Regions from separate parts of the Homo sapiens genome. Here region 2 is linked to region 1. Evidence: promoter capture Hi-C in human tissues and cell types (Jung and others, 2019). All regions are on one chromosome and are shown on one strand. The core of a region is centred on a gene start or on the middle of the fragment in contact, and the rest is flanking DNA. Distances in the headings are between cores, read along the strand shown.

Region 1 (6,108 bases), core at 3,609-6,108:
TAAAAAGTGTACAGTATGTCGGGTGTGATGGCTCACGCCTGTAATCCTAGCACTTTGTAAGGCTGAGGCGAGTGGATCACTTGAGGCCAGGAGTTTGAGACCAGCCTGGCCAACACGGTGAAACCCTGTCTCTACTAAAAAAAAAAAAAAAAAAAAAAAAAAAAAAAAAATCAGCTGGGTGGCACACACCTGTAGTCCTAGCTACTCGGAATACTGAGGCAGGAGAATTGCTTGCACCCAGGAGGGTGAGGTTGAAGTAAGCTGAGATCGCACCACTGTACTCCAGCCCTGGGCGACAGAGCGAGAGCGAGACTCTGTCTCAAAAAAAAAAAAAAAGTGTGCAGTGAGGCCACACAAGACATGGTGGCTCACGCCTGTAATTCCAGTGCTTTGGGAGGCAGGAGGATCTCTTGAGGTCAGGAGTTCAAGACCAGCCTGGGCAACACAGGCCAGGAGTTCAAGGCCAGCCTGAGATCCCATCTCTACAAAAAATAAAAAGTAATTTAGCCAGTTGTGAGTTGTGGTGGCACATGCCTGTAATCCCAGCTACTCGGGAAGCTAAGGCAGGAGAATCGCTTGAACCCAGGAGTTTGAGGCTGCAGAGAGGTATGATCGTGCCACTGCATTCCAGCCTGGGCAACACAGCAAGACCCTGTCTCTTAAAAAAGAAGTGGGGGAGCTGGGGGTGGTGGCTCATGCCTGTAATCTCAGCACTTTGGGAGGCTGAGGTGGGCAGATCACAAGGTCAGGAGATCGAGACCATCCTGGCTAACACGGTGAAACCCCATCTCTACTAAAAATACAAAAAATTAGCCGGGTGTGGTGGCGGGTGCCTGTAGTCCCAGCTACTCCGGAGGCTGAGGCAGGAGAATGGCGTGAACCAGAGAGGCGGAGCTTGCAGTGAGCTGAGATCGAGCCACTGCACTCCAGCCTGGGCAACAGAGCGAGACTCCGTCTAAAACCAAAACAAAACAAAACAGAAGTGGGGAGAGGATGGTGCAGTAGAAGCTCCCTCAAGGCTAAATGGGGAGAAGAGACCACAGCTTGAAGCTTCACCAGGACCCCTGGAGTCTGATCCTCCTAGATTCTTCTCACTCCTTCCCTCCTTCCCAAGGCCCCACATTAGCCAGTAGGGTCCATGCTCCCAACCCACTTACTCCTCTCCTTGCAGCAGACAGACACCTGGAGCCTCAAGCACTGGCCAGAACTCTCTGGAGTGGGCACCGCTGGGTAGTGGGAAAGTGGGAAAAAGTTAGCACAGGGAGTCACCCCTTTGTATGCCTCAGACTGTTTCAGACCCTCCCAGGTTTTCTTCTCTCCAGGTCCCTGGAAAGCGTTTCCTTACTTTGGGGCCACACCCATGTATCAGGCCCCATCCAGTCCTCTCATCTCCCTGGCCCCCTTTCCTAGCTCCTCCTACTTTCTCCTTTCTAGACATTTCCCTCCTCAGTCCTGAGTTCAGCCCATACCTCAACCCGATGTACATTAGAGACCCAGCCCCCTCCTCCTTCCAGGCCTCTCCTTCCCCCTCCCTACCCTTCTGGTACACAAGAGGTGTCCAGTGTGCCCTTGGCCACTCACAGATGTAGTAGTAAGTCTCTCCAGGTAAGAACTCAAAGCCGAGGGAGAAGGGTGTGAAGCGCTGAATCTTCTCTGAGAATTGAACATGGCCAAAGGGCAGGGAGCACACCCAGCGCTTGTAGGCCCGGGGGCCCTCTGCCTGGCAGGACTCATAGCCTGGCCAGTCCACCATGTACAAAGCAAACGTCTCGGGGCCCTCAGGGGGCCCTGGGCCTTCGTAGTGGGGGCAGACAATGTCTAGGTAATCGTTGAGGCCCAGCTCCACCACGGCGTCTCCTCGAAGCAACCTGCAGGCATAACGCAGGGGTGGGCTGAGGAGTGGAGGGCACCACGCCATGGCCATGGATGCCAGAGACACCCCTTCTCAGAGGCCCCTGCCAGCCTCTCCTCCACCCATGTGCGATGGAGCAGCTCAGGAAGGCCCGAGGTTCCCAGACTGACAACTCTTGAGAGACAAAGAGAGTGCAAGAAATGGATGAGATGATCGATTCACAGGTTCCGAGAGGCTAAGACCTGCAGTGCCCATAACCACACAGCTTAGATGTGAGAAGGAGGGTCACCACACCCTGTCCTACAGGCTGGAGCTGCCACACACCTCTCTAGCTCCAGTGCCCAACACTCAATGTGGTATAGCACCAGGCTTGATCAATGTCAGGTGGATGGATGCTGTGAAGAAGCTGGGCAGAGAGGCAGGAGGTACAGTTGCACACAGTGCAGCTGCAGACACAGAGGTGGAAACAGGGGTTGGGAAAGGTCTCCTCAAACAGATATAAAGTGAGGAACACTGTCCTTTAGACTGACTTCAACCCAAGGGTGAAAAGAATGTCACGGTAAAAAAAGAATGAGGGAGGCCAGGTGTGGTGGCTCACATCTGAATCCCAGCACTTTGGGAGGCCGAGGTGGGAGGATCGCTTGAGGCCAGGAGTTCAAGACCAGCCTGGGCAACATGGTGAGACTGTCTCTACCATAAATAAATAAATAGGCTGGGCGCGGTGGCTCACGCTTGTAATCCCAGCACTTTGGGAGGCTGAGGCGGGCGGATCATGAGGTCAGGAGATCAAGACCATCCTGGCTAACACGGTGAAACCCCGTCTCTACTAAGAATATAAAAAGAAAACTAGCCGGGCGTGGTGGCGGGCACCTGTAGTCCCAGCTACTTGGGAGGTTGAGGCAGGAGAATGGCGTGAACCCGGGAGGCGGAGCTTGCAGTGAGCCGAGATTGCGCCACTGCACTCCAGCCTGGGAGACAGAGCGAGACTCCATCTCAAAAAATAAATAAATAAATAAATAAATAAATAAATAAATAAATAAATAAAGGCCATGAGTGGTGGTGCACTCCTGTAGTCCCAGCTACTTGGGAGGCTGAGGCGGGAGGATCCTTAGAGTCCGCAAGTTCCTGTAGTGAGCTATTATGCCACCGCACTACAGCCTGGGTGACAGAGCAAGACCCTGTCTCTAAATTCTAAAAATTAAAAAAAAAAAAAAAAAAAGAATGAGGGAGTGGGTGCTAGGTGCCTCCCTTTTTTGGCCAGGAGGAGCAAGTGCCAGGCATGGGGGGAGTCCACATACTACCCAGTCTTCAGTCTTCTCAGGACTCCCTTCCCCACCTCTTGGGAGCTGCCTGGGGAAGCCAGCACAGGTGGGAAGGGCTGGAAGGGGCTGCTCCCCACAGTACTGAATGCTGCATGAACCACCCCCCATACCACAAACACAGCGAAGCATGACTTAGGAAAAGCCTCCAGTGGGTGGTCCAAGGACGACCTGTATCAGTTCTGATTAGAAATGAAGATTCCTGGGCTCAGCCAGCCCAGACTTACTAGAACGCAAGCTGAGCAAGGACAGGGCCTTGGTAAGTTTTGTTCTACTGCATCCCCCGTGCCTGGAAAAGTGCCCAGCACAGGACAGTGTTCAATAAATATTTGTGGATTGAATGAATGAGCCAGAAACCTTAAGATTGGGGGGTGAGAAACCTGAATTTTTAACAGGTCCTCCAAGTGATTCAGAAGCTTTGGTCTGTGACAGAGATAGAGAATTCAGAGTCCAAGGACAACAAAAGCTCTTATCACTTGTTATTGGTATTGTAATGACCTGTCTTTATGCAGGCTCTCCTGCCTGCGCCTGTTCTCCAGAGAGTCTGTGGAATCCCAGAGGGCAGGGTCTTGATCTTCTCATCTATATAGTTAATCCCCTGCAACCTAGCACAGGGCCGGGCACACACAGTATGTGTTTAATAAATAAATGTTAGTGAGTGAAGAAATGAATAGTCACAGATTGTCTCAAGTAGAAAATCAGAAAGAAAAACAGATAGGAAATAGGAGAGGCAGGGAGACTTGGGGAGGGGGATGGAAACAGTAAAATATACTAAGGTTCAAAGGCAGGCAGCTCAGGAGAGAGAAAGAAATAATAGTTTATATCTGTACAGCCTGAGCCTCTTTCACATACATGACCTCACTTACCCTGCCAGACTTCCCAGGGTACTAGGTATTATTAGCCCATTATACAGGTGAGATAAATGAGGTTAGGAAGGTCACGAGACTTGCCCAGAGGTGATTCGGCTAGAAGGGCAGGGCTGACACTGGAAAGAAACAGAAGGACCAATAAAGACAGAGATGAAAGCAGAGATAGCAAATGAGATCAGGAGACAGAGTGAGAGCCAGAGGTGAGACCCAGCGGGCAGGAGAGTAACCCACGCTCTTTCATAAGAGTAAAGCCCCCTCCCTCGCTCTCAAGTTCGTCAGCCACAGCTCCAGCCTGCGGGAGGCTGGGGATCGCCAGGAGAGCAGCGAGGGGGGCGGAGCCCGGAGTGCGGGCAAAGGCCCCCCCAGCTCCATGCTCCAAGACCCCCTAGACAACCCTTGGGGCTGGGGTCTTCTGCCTGCCCCCCAACACATGCGGGCTGTGGGGAGACCCAGGGCGCGCCTCGCCCCTCGCCCCTCCCCCCTCCCCCGCCGGCTCAAACAAAGGAGCCCCGGCGCGCGGCCAGGCTCAGGCGGCGCCGCGCAAAGAGCGGGTGGCGGGCGCGCGCAAAGCCCGGGAGCGCGCAGACTTGGCTGTGCGCTCGCCCGGTTCGGCCCGGCTACCTGGGGTTACTGGAGTTCCAGTAGACTACGTGGCGGAGGCTGGAGCCCCCGCGCAGAGGGGAGCCGAGGAACGCGGCCCAGAGGACAGTCCGCAGCAGGGGCAGCAGCCGCATCGCCCCCGAGGTCCGGTTTGGTCTGGCCTGGCAGGTCCCGGCCCGCTTCACAGTCGAGGAGAGAAAGGTACAAAGTGAAGAGGGAAGTTGCGGAAAGGGGAGTGGGGTACGGAGATTCACTGACCCCGCCCCTGAATAACTTTCCGCCAATGGGAGCGCGTCTCCTCCTCTCCACCCAGCGCCAACTCCAGTTAACCCTCTGTGCACCGCAGCGCGCGCCAGGTTCGCCAAAGCTTCCACTGAGGCTGCACCGCACTGCGAGGGGGCGGGAAGGAAGGACGTATTCCAACAGCAGTATTTTTAGGGAGGTCATCTCTTTCGTGTCTGCTTTAGTGCAGGGTAGACTGCCTTATTAGAAGTTTGGAAGATTTTAAATAAGGGTACATAACCTTTGCCCAGATAGGGGAAAGTGAGGCGCGGGCGAGGATCCATGAAGCCTGTCCAACCACCTTCATGCACTGCCCCGTTTTCTTTGCACATCTAGGGACAGTGCAAGCGGAAGGGACAACACAGCTCTGGGACCACCTTCCCTAAAGAGCCTTAGGTGGCGCGCTAGATGCTCACTTTAGGATTGGCGTCTGTCCCTTGCCGCTCCACACCTTCGTTCCGGGCTGGGGGCCCACGCGGCCCCAGTCCCTAAGACGAAGTAATGAGGTGGTTGCGGCCTGTACAAAGCACCTTTGTTCCCGATCCCTCAGGTGGCGGCGGCGGAGGGGGAGGAGGCAGGTGCGCGGCCTTGGGATCGTGGGAGCAGCCGCCGCCCCGCTCCGCCCTGGCTCCTGGGCTCTGGGAGCATCAGCCAGATCCACTTTTCCCAGCCAATGGTCAGAGTGGGGACGGCAGGTCCAACAGCTTGACAGATTGCGCCGAAAGCCACCCCAGTCTGGGCAGAGGGAAGCTGCGAGCATCCCGGGGACACACGCCGACCCTTTCTGGTACTCCCGCCCCACACAGCCCGCCCTCGTCTGAGGCGGCAGCGTCTTCTGGCGGCCAAACCTGGAACCGCAGCAGGAGCGACCCGGGTTCTAGAAGCAGACAAACTCTGGGGAACGCTCCCAAGATGTCACGTTTATTGCAACTGAGCAGAGACAGGCTGTGCGGACCTTCCTCAATCCCGTCCAACCCCCAGCCCCTCCCCAAGCCCCCGCTGCAACTACGCCGGCAGGTCCGCAGAGTGTTGCTTGACAGCGCGTGGCGGTGCCCGGAGTCTTAAGACACCGCCAGTCTCTGGCGCCTTCAGTCATGGTAGGGGACTCCAGAGGGCACGCCCGCCTCTTGAAGCCCTAAGTCCGGCTTGGAGGCAGCGGAACCTCCGGAGAGGTCAGAGGTAGAGC
Region 2 (6,108 bases), core at 1,822-4,321, 41 kb before region 1:
CCACACTGCAGCTCCTGATGGGCAGTGAGTGAGACTCACCCAAAGGCCTCTGCCAGTGCCTGGCACACAGTGGCATCTGCTTGGGTTTATGGCTGTAGAGAGTGATGTTCCAAAGCAGCAACACCAGCATCAGAATTGATTTGGGGAATCTCGGGATTGTGATCTGTCCTAAACCGCATTATGGCAAATACATGGGTTTTCAGACAAGAATAGGAATGTTTCTAAACTTCCAGAAATTTCTAGAGGGCTCACTGTTTGCTTTTGTGTGTGGATAACTCCAGCATTGCTGCCTGAAGTATTGTGACACCAGCCCCTGAGCAAAGTTCTCCTTGATATGGCTTGTGACATGGTGTGATGTGTGATGTGGCATGCACGTGATGTTTGACACAGGGCAGGGGCTGGTTGGGACTGAAGACATCCATATTCCTGTAAGATTTTTTGGTTCAAGTTTGGGAATCAGCTGCGTGCAGCTGTAGTCCTCTTTGGAGGGGATGTTCAGCGTAATTAAGCAGCCCTTTCTGATACCTGATCCCCGTGGATGTGCTTCACCTGGACACAGAGGACCTGGGCATGAAGATCCCCCACTCCTGGGGTTGGGGGCAGGATAGGTTTATGGCCACCGAATGGAAATGCAGCTCCTTCTGTTGTTCAGACCTCACTTGTCATATTAATGTTACTTCCTTGCTTGGCTTCAAAGTTAGACAAATGCAGGATGGTCAAGCCCATTCAGTTCCCGGGAGAGAAAGAAGTGGCTGTGACAAGCAGGCCTGGGTGCAGCTAGTGATGCACCTGGGGTGGGCGTGGCCTTCCTCCCCGTTAGGCTGGCTGTCTCTTCCTCTCAGCCTTCTTTTGTCTCTTTTTATTCCCATTCTAATTTCTTTTTATTTTTACTTTAAAAAATTGTTTTTAGAGGCAAGGTCTCATTCTGTTGCCCAGGCTGGAGTGCAATGGCGTGATCTCGGCTCACTGCAACCTCCGCCTCCCAGGTTCAAGCAATTCTCCTTCTTCACCCTCCCGAGTAGCTAGGATTACAGGCGCATGCCACCATGCCCGCCTAATTTTTGTTTTGTTTTGTTTTGTTTTGCTTTTTGACACAAAGTTTCACTCTTGTTGCCCAGGCTGGAGTGCAATGGCACAATCTCAGCTCACTGCAACCTCTGCTTTCCAGGTTCATACAATTCTCCTTCCTCAGCCTCCCAAGTAGCTGGAATTACAGGTGCACACCACCACGCCCAGCTAATTTTTTTGTATTTTTAGTAGATACAGGGTTTCACCATGTTGGCCAGGGTGGTCTTGAACTCCTGACCTCAGGTGATCCACCCGCCTTGGCCTCCCAAAGTGCTGGGATTACAGGTGTGAGCCACCACACCCGGCCTAATTTTTGTATTTTTAGTAGAGACGGGGTTTCACCACATTGGCCAGGCTGGTCACAAACTCCTGACCTCAAGTGATCCCCCTGCCTTGGCCTCCCAAAGTGCTGGGATTACAGGCATGCCTGGCCTAGTCCTATTCTTCACACACAGTTGAGAGATCCTTTAATTTAATTTAATTTAAAGAGACAGGGTCTTGCTGTGTTGATGCTACAGTGCAGTGGCATAATCACAGCTCACTGTAACCTGGAACTCTTGGGCTCCAGTGATGCTCCCACCTCAGCCTCCCTAGAAGCTAGGACTACAGGTACGTACCACCACACCAGGCTAATTTTTTTTTTTTTTTGTAGAGAAAAGCTCTCACTATGTTACCAGACTGGTCTCAAACTCCTGGCCTCAAGCAGTCCTCCTAGCAGAATTACAAAGTGTTGAGCCATCACACCTGGCCTCAAGAGATCCTTTAAAGTGTGACTCTTATCTGTGCTCCCCTGGCCAAACCCTCCAGTGGCTCCCAGTCATGTTTACAGTGAAATTCAGATGCACACTGTGTTCTCCCAATCCCCTGGCGCCCGCCTCCACCATTTCTCAATCCATTTCCCTCCTTACACACCATTCTCCAGCCACACTGGGCTTCTTCATGCTCCTCGACCTCCCTGGCCATGCTCCAGCCTCAGGGAATTTGTACTTTGAAACAGAGGAAGCAAAACTCTCCTCCAATGTATAATTTGGCTCAATCAAATGTTCCCTCCAGTGAGAGTCTTTCCTGATGGCTACAGCATGCACAATGGAGCGCGCTCACACACACACACGCAGACAAACAGACATACACGCCTCTTACTCTATCCTCTTTTTTTTTCTTGGCTCACTGCAACCTCTGCCTCCCAGATTCAAGCGATTCTCCTGCCTCAGCCTCCTGAGTAGCTGGGACTACAGGCATGTGCCACCAAGCCCGGCTAATGTTTGCATTTTTAGTAGAGACGGGGGTTTCACCATATTCACCAGGCTGGTCTTGAACTCCTGACCTCAAGTGATCCACCTGCCTTGGTCTCCCAAAATGCTGGGATTACAGGTGTGAGCCGCCATGCCCGGCCCTATCCTATCTATCTATCTATCTATCTATCTATCTATCTATCTATCTATCTATCATCTATCTATCTATCTAATCTTTTCTATTTTGTTTCTCCCCAGCTGACTATAAGCTTCATAAGGCAGGGACTTTGTTCCATACTGTAGAGAACATATCCAGAAAAAGGTTCTGAGCACAAAGTAGGATCTTAAAAAACAGGAAGGGCATTGCTGATTCTCAGGAACACCAAACAGAGTGGCTTTGAGGAGCAGATACATAAAAATGGCAGCCTGTATGCTGCTCCCTTCCCCCTAACTGTTTCCTGAGAGCCAGGTTTACACTTCCAGGAATAAGATTAGAGGACTCTTCTGGAAAACTTCCAGAGAATGGTCCCAGGCCAAAGATCTACATTTAGAACAAATGAGAAGCCACTAGATGTCCTTTTATTCTTGCCTTCCACACTTACTCCCTTCTGCACCTACTATTGAACACCTGCTATGCGCTAGAAAACATTCTAGGTGCTGGGACTCTATCTGTAAACAAAACTGCTGTAGATCCTCACCTTGAGGAGCTTACATTCCGAAGAGTGTGCCTTCGAAACCCAGGTGTACACAGTCACCCAACAGCACTCTGTCCTGCTTCATGCAGAAATGTGAATGGAGAGCCACCAAGGGGAAAAACAGACCAAAGCACAGAGAAAAAGAAATCAAAGGGAACTAGGAATCATTCAGGGAGTAGAAGAAAACCTTTAAAATGGCAATTAGTATTTTTAGAGAGGTAAGAGATTATTCATAAAATGAGAACCAGGTTATATTAAAAAATAAAATAAGGCCAGGCTCAGTGGCTCATGCCTGTAATCCCAGCACTTTGGGAGGCAGAGATGGGTGGATTACTTGAGGCCTGGAGATCAAGACCAGCCTGGCCAACATAGTGTACTGCCTTCTCTACTAAAAATACAAAAATTAGCTGGGCATGGTGGCGCACGCCTGTAATCCCAGCCGCTCAGGAAGCTGAGGGAGGAGAATTAACTTGAGCCTGGGAGGTGGAGGTTGCAGTGAACCAAGATTGTGCCACTGCACTCCAGCCTGGGCCACAGAGTGAGACCCTGTCTCGAAAAAACTAAACTACTCGGAAATTAAATATAGGTAAGTAAAAACAATTAACCAAAGGAATGGCAAGTCTGAGGAAATCTCTGAGAAAGCAGAATAATTAGACAAAGAGTTGGGGAACAAAGGAGAAAAATAGAAAAATTAGAGAATCAGCCCAGGAGACTGAACATTCAACTATAAAAGAGAGGAGACGGGAGGAAATTATCCAAGAAATAATACAAAACGCTTTCTTCCTCCATTTCCTCCTTTCTTTTCCTCCCTTCCTCCCTCCTCCCTCCCTCCCTTTCTCTCTCTCTCTCTCCTCTCTCTCTCTCTCTCTTTCTTTTCTTAATAAGGAGTCTTGCTCTGTTGCCCAGGCGGGAGTGCAGTGGCATGATCTCAGCTCACTGCAACCTCTGCCTCCTGCGTTCAAGCAATTCTCCTGCTTTAGCCTCCCAAGTAGTTGGGACTACAGGCGCCTGCCATCACACCTGGCTAATTTTTGTATTTTCAGTAGAGATGAGGTTTTGCCATATTGGCCAGGCTGGTCTTGAACTCCTGACCTCAGGTGACCCACCTGCCTTGGCCTCCCAAAGTGCTGCCATTACAGGCGTGAGCCACTGCGCCTGGCCAAGAAACTTTCTAAGAACTGAAAATTTAGAATGAGTGATAAAGATTAGTATTCATACACAGGATCGGGAATCTGTTTTGACTTGGATTTCTCAATAGCAGCGCTAGAAACTGGGATAGCTGAATCAGTGACCTTGAACTTCTGAGGGAAAATGTTTTCCAACTTAGAATTCTACCCCCAGCTAATCTAACAATCAAGAATGAGGTTAGTGCCGGGCGCGGTGGCTCATGCCTGTAATCCTAGCACTTTTGGAGGCTAAGGTGAGTGGATCGCCTTAAGACAGGAGTTCCGAGAACAGCCTGGCCAACATGGTGAAAACCCACCTCTACTAAAAATACAAAAATTAGCCGAGCGTGGTGGCGCACGCCTGTAGTCCCAGCTACTCTAGAGGCTGAGGAAGGAGAATCGCTTGAACACGGGAGGTGGAGGTTGCAGTGAGCCAAGATCGCACCACTGCATTCCAGCCTGGGCCACAGAGCGAGACTCCATCTCAAGAAAAAAACAAAAAGCCGGGTGCGGTGGCTCACGCCTGTAATCCCAGCACTTTGGGAGGCCGAGGCAGGGGATCACAAGGTCAGGAGATCGAGACCATCCTGGCTAACACGGTGAAACCCCATCTCTACTAAAAATACAAAAAATTAGCCTGGCGTGGTGGCAGGCGCCTGTAGTCCCAGCTACTCGGGAGGCTGAGGCAGGAGAATGGCGTGAACTTGGGAGGCGGAGCTCACAGTGAGCCGAGATCGTGCCACTGCACTCCAGCCTGGACGACAGAGCAAGACTCCGTATCAAAAACAAAACAAAACAAAAAACAAACAAAAAATACATACATACAATACATCCCGGAGATCTTTCTTGGAGAAATTCCTTACTCCTTTGTCTAGTGGCTTATTCCATTGCGTGGATGTACAGTAGTGTATTTAGCCAGTCCTCCATAGGACACTTGGGTTGTTTCCAATACTTTACTATTGTCAGTGAATGCCACAATGAATAACTATATACCTACTTCGTTTCAAATGTGCATAGACATAGCTGCCGGACAAATTCCCAGAAGGAGGATTGCTAGGTTAAAGGGTAAATGCATTTGTCATTTTGCTTGGTATCTCCAAATCCCCTTCCATGTGAGTGATAGAGCTTTGCCCTCCCACTGGCAATGTATGAAAATGCCTGTTCCCTAAAGCCACGTCAACAGACTGTGTTGTAAACCTTTGGATTTTTGCCAAGCTGATAAATGAGAAGTGCTATCTTGGTGTGGTTTTAATTTTCATTTCTCTTATGTGTGAGAATGAACATCCTTTTAAACATTTAAAAGCCACTTGCATTTCCTTTCAGTAAACTGTTCATTTTCTTTGGTCATTTCTCTTTTTTTTTTGAAACAGTCTCACTCTGTTACCCAGGCTGGAGTGCAGTGGCGCAATCTCGGCTCACTGCAACCTCTGCCTCCCAGGTTCAAGCAATTCTCCTGCCTCGGCCTCCCGAATAGCTGGGATTACAGGCGTGCCCCACCATGCCTGGAGAACTTTTTTGTATTTTTAGTAGATACGGGGTTTCATCATATTGGCCAGGCTGGTCTCAAACTCCTGACCTTGTGATCCGCCCACCTCGGCCTCCCAAATTGGTAGGATTACAGGCGTGAGCCACTGCTCCCGGCCTCTTTGGCCATTTCTCTATTGGGTTATTGGTCTTTCCAGTTAGTTATTAATTCCAAGGAAAAGAAAAAGTTTTTAAAGAACTAGAATGAATCATAGTATATTATGTGAGTCAATTGTGAACAATTGTCACAGTTTAATAACCATCTAAATGCTAAATATTGATTTAACCAAAAATTTTGGATTTGACTCTATTGGGAGGGCAGTGTATGTGTTTCTGTGCATTGAGAGGCAGGACACAGAGAACTGAATCCTCATGTTTCATGAGAGGAAGTCGATAGAGCAGGTCTAACATTGAATAAAGAAA

The links. The method cuts DNA at HindIII sites, captures the fragments that hold promoters and counts their contacts. A contact is called where the count stands out against the background at its distance.
Region 2: a contact is called between a fragment that was not itself captured here and the fragment with the promoter of EFNA4 in region 1, in 1 of the 25 tissues and cell types used here (mesendoderm cells).

The regions. Positions count from the first base shown.
Region 1 is chr1:155,062,490-155,068,597 of GRCh38, reverse strand. It overlaps EFNA4 (ephrin A4), which reads right to left and starts at 4,858. Exons shown (of 4, transcript NM_005227.3): 1 at 4,662-4,858; 2 at 1,582-1,868; 3 at 1,158-1,226. The coding sequence starts at 4,774. It overlaps ADAM15 (ADAM metallopeptidase domain 15), which reads right to left. Exons shown (of 23, transcript NM_207197.3): 23 at 5,823-6,108. The coding sequence ends at 6,096. It overlaps EFNA4-EFNA3 (EFNA4-EFNA3 readthrough), which reads right to left and starts at 4,858. Exons shown (of 5, transcript NM_001407761.1): 1 at 4,662-4,858. The coding sequence starts at 4,774. DCST1-AS1 (DCST1 antisense RNA 1) reads left to right here and starts at 4,607. Exons shown (of 4, transcript NR_040773.1): 1 at 4,607-4,841. It also overlaps ADAM15-EFNA4. RefSeq lists an enhancer at 3,406-3,907 and silencers at 4,398-4,547, 4,838-4,987, 5,368-5,457. The HindIII fragment of the contact is 5,150 bases long and covers 2,320-6,108 here.
Region 2 is chr1:155,101,717-155,107,824 of GRCh38, reverse strand. No RefSeq gene overlaps it. Among named protein-coding and RNA genes, the nearest start is that of EFNA1, 23 kb to the left of the region's middle. RefSeq lists a silencer at 4,317-4,483. The HindIII fragment of the contact is 6,363 bases long and covers 1-6,108 here.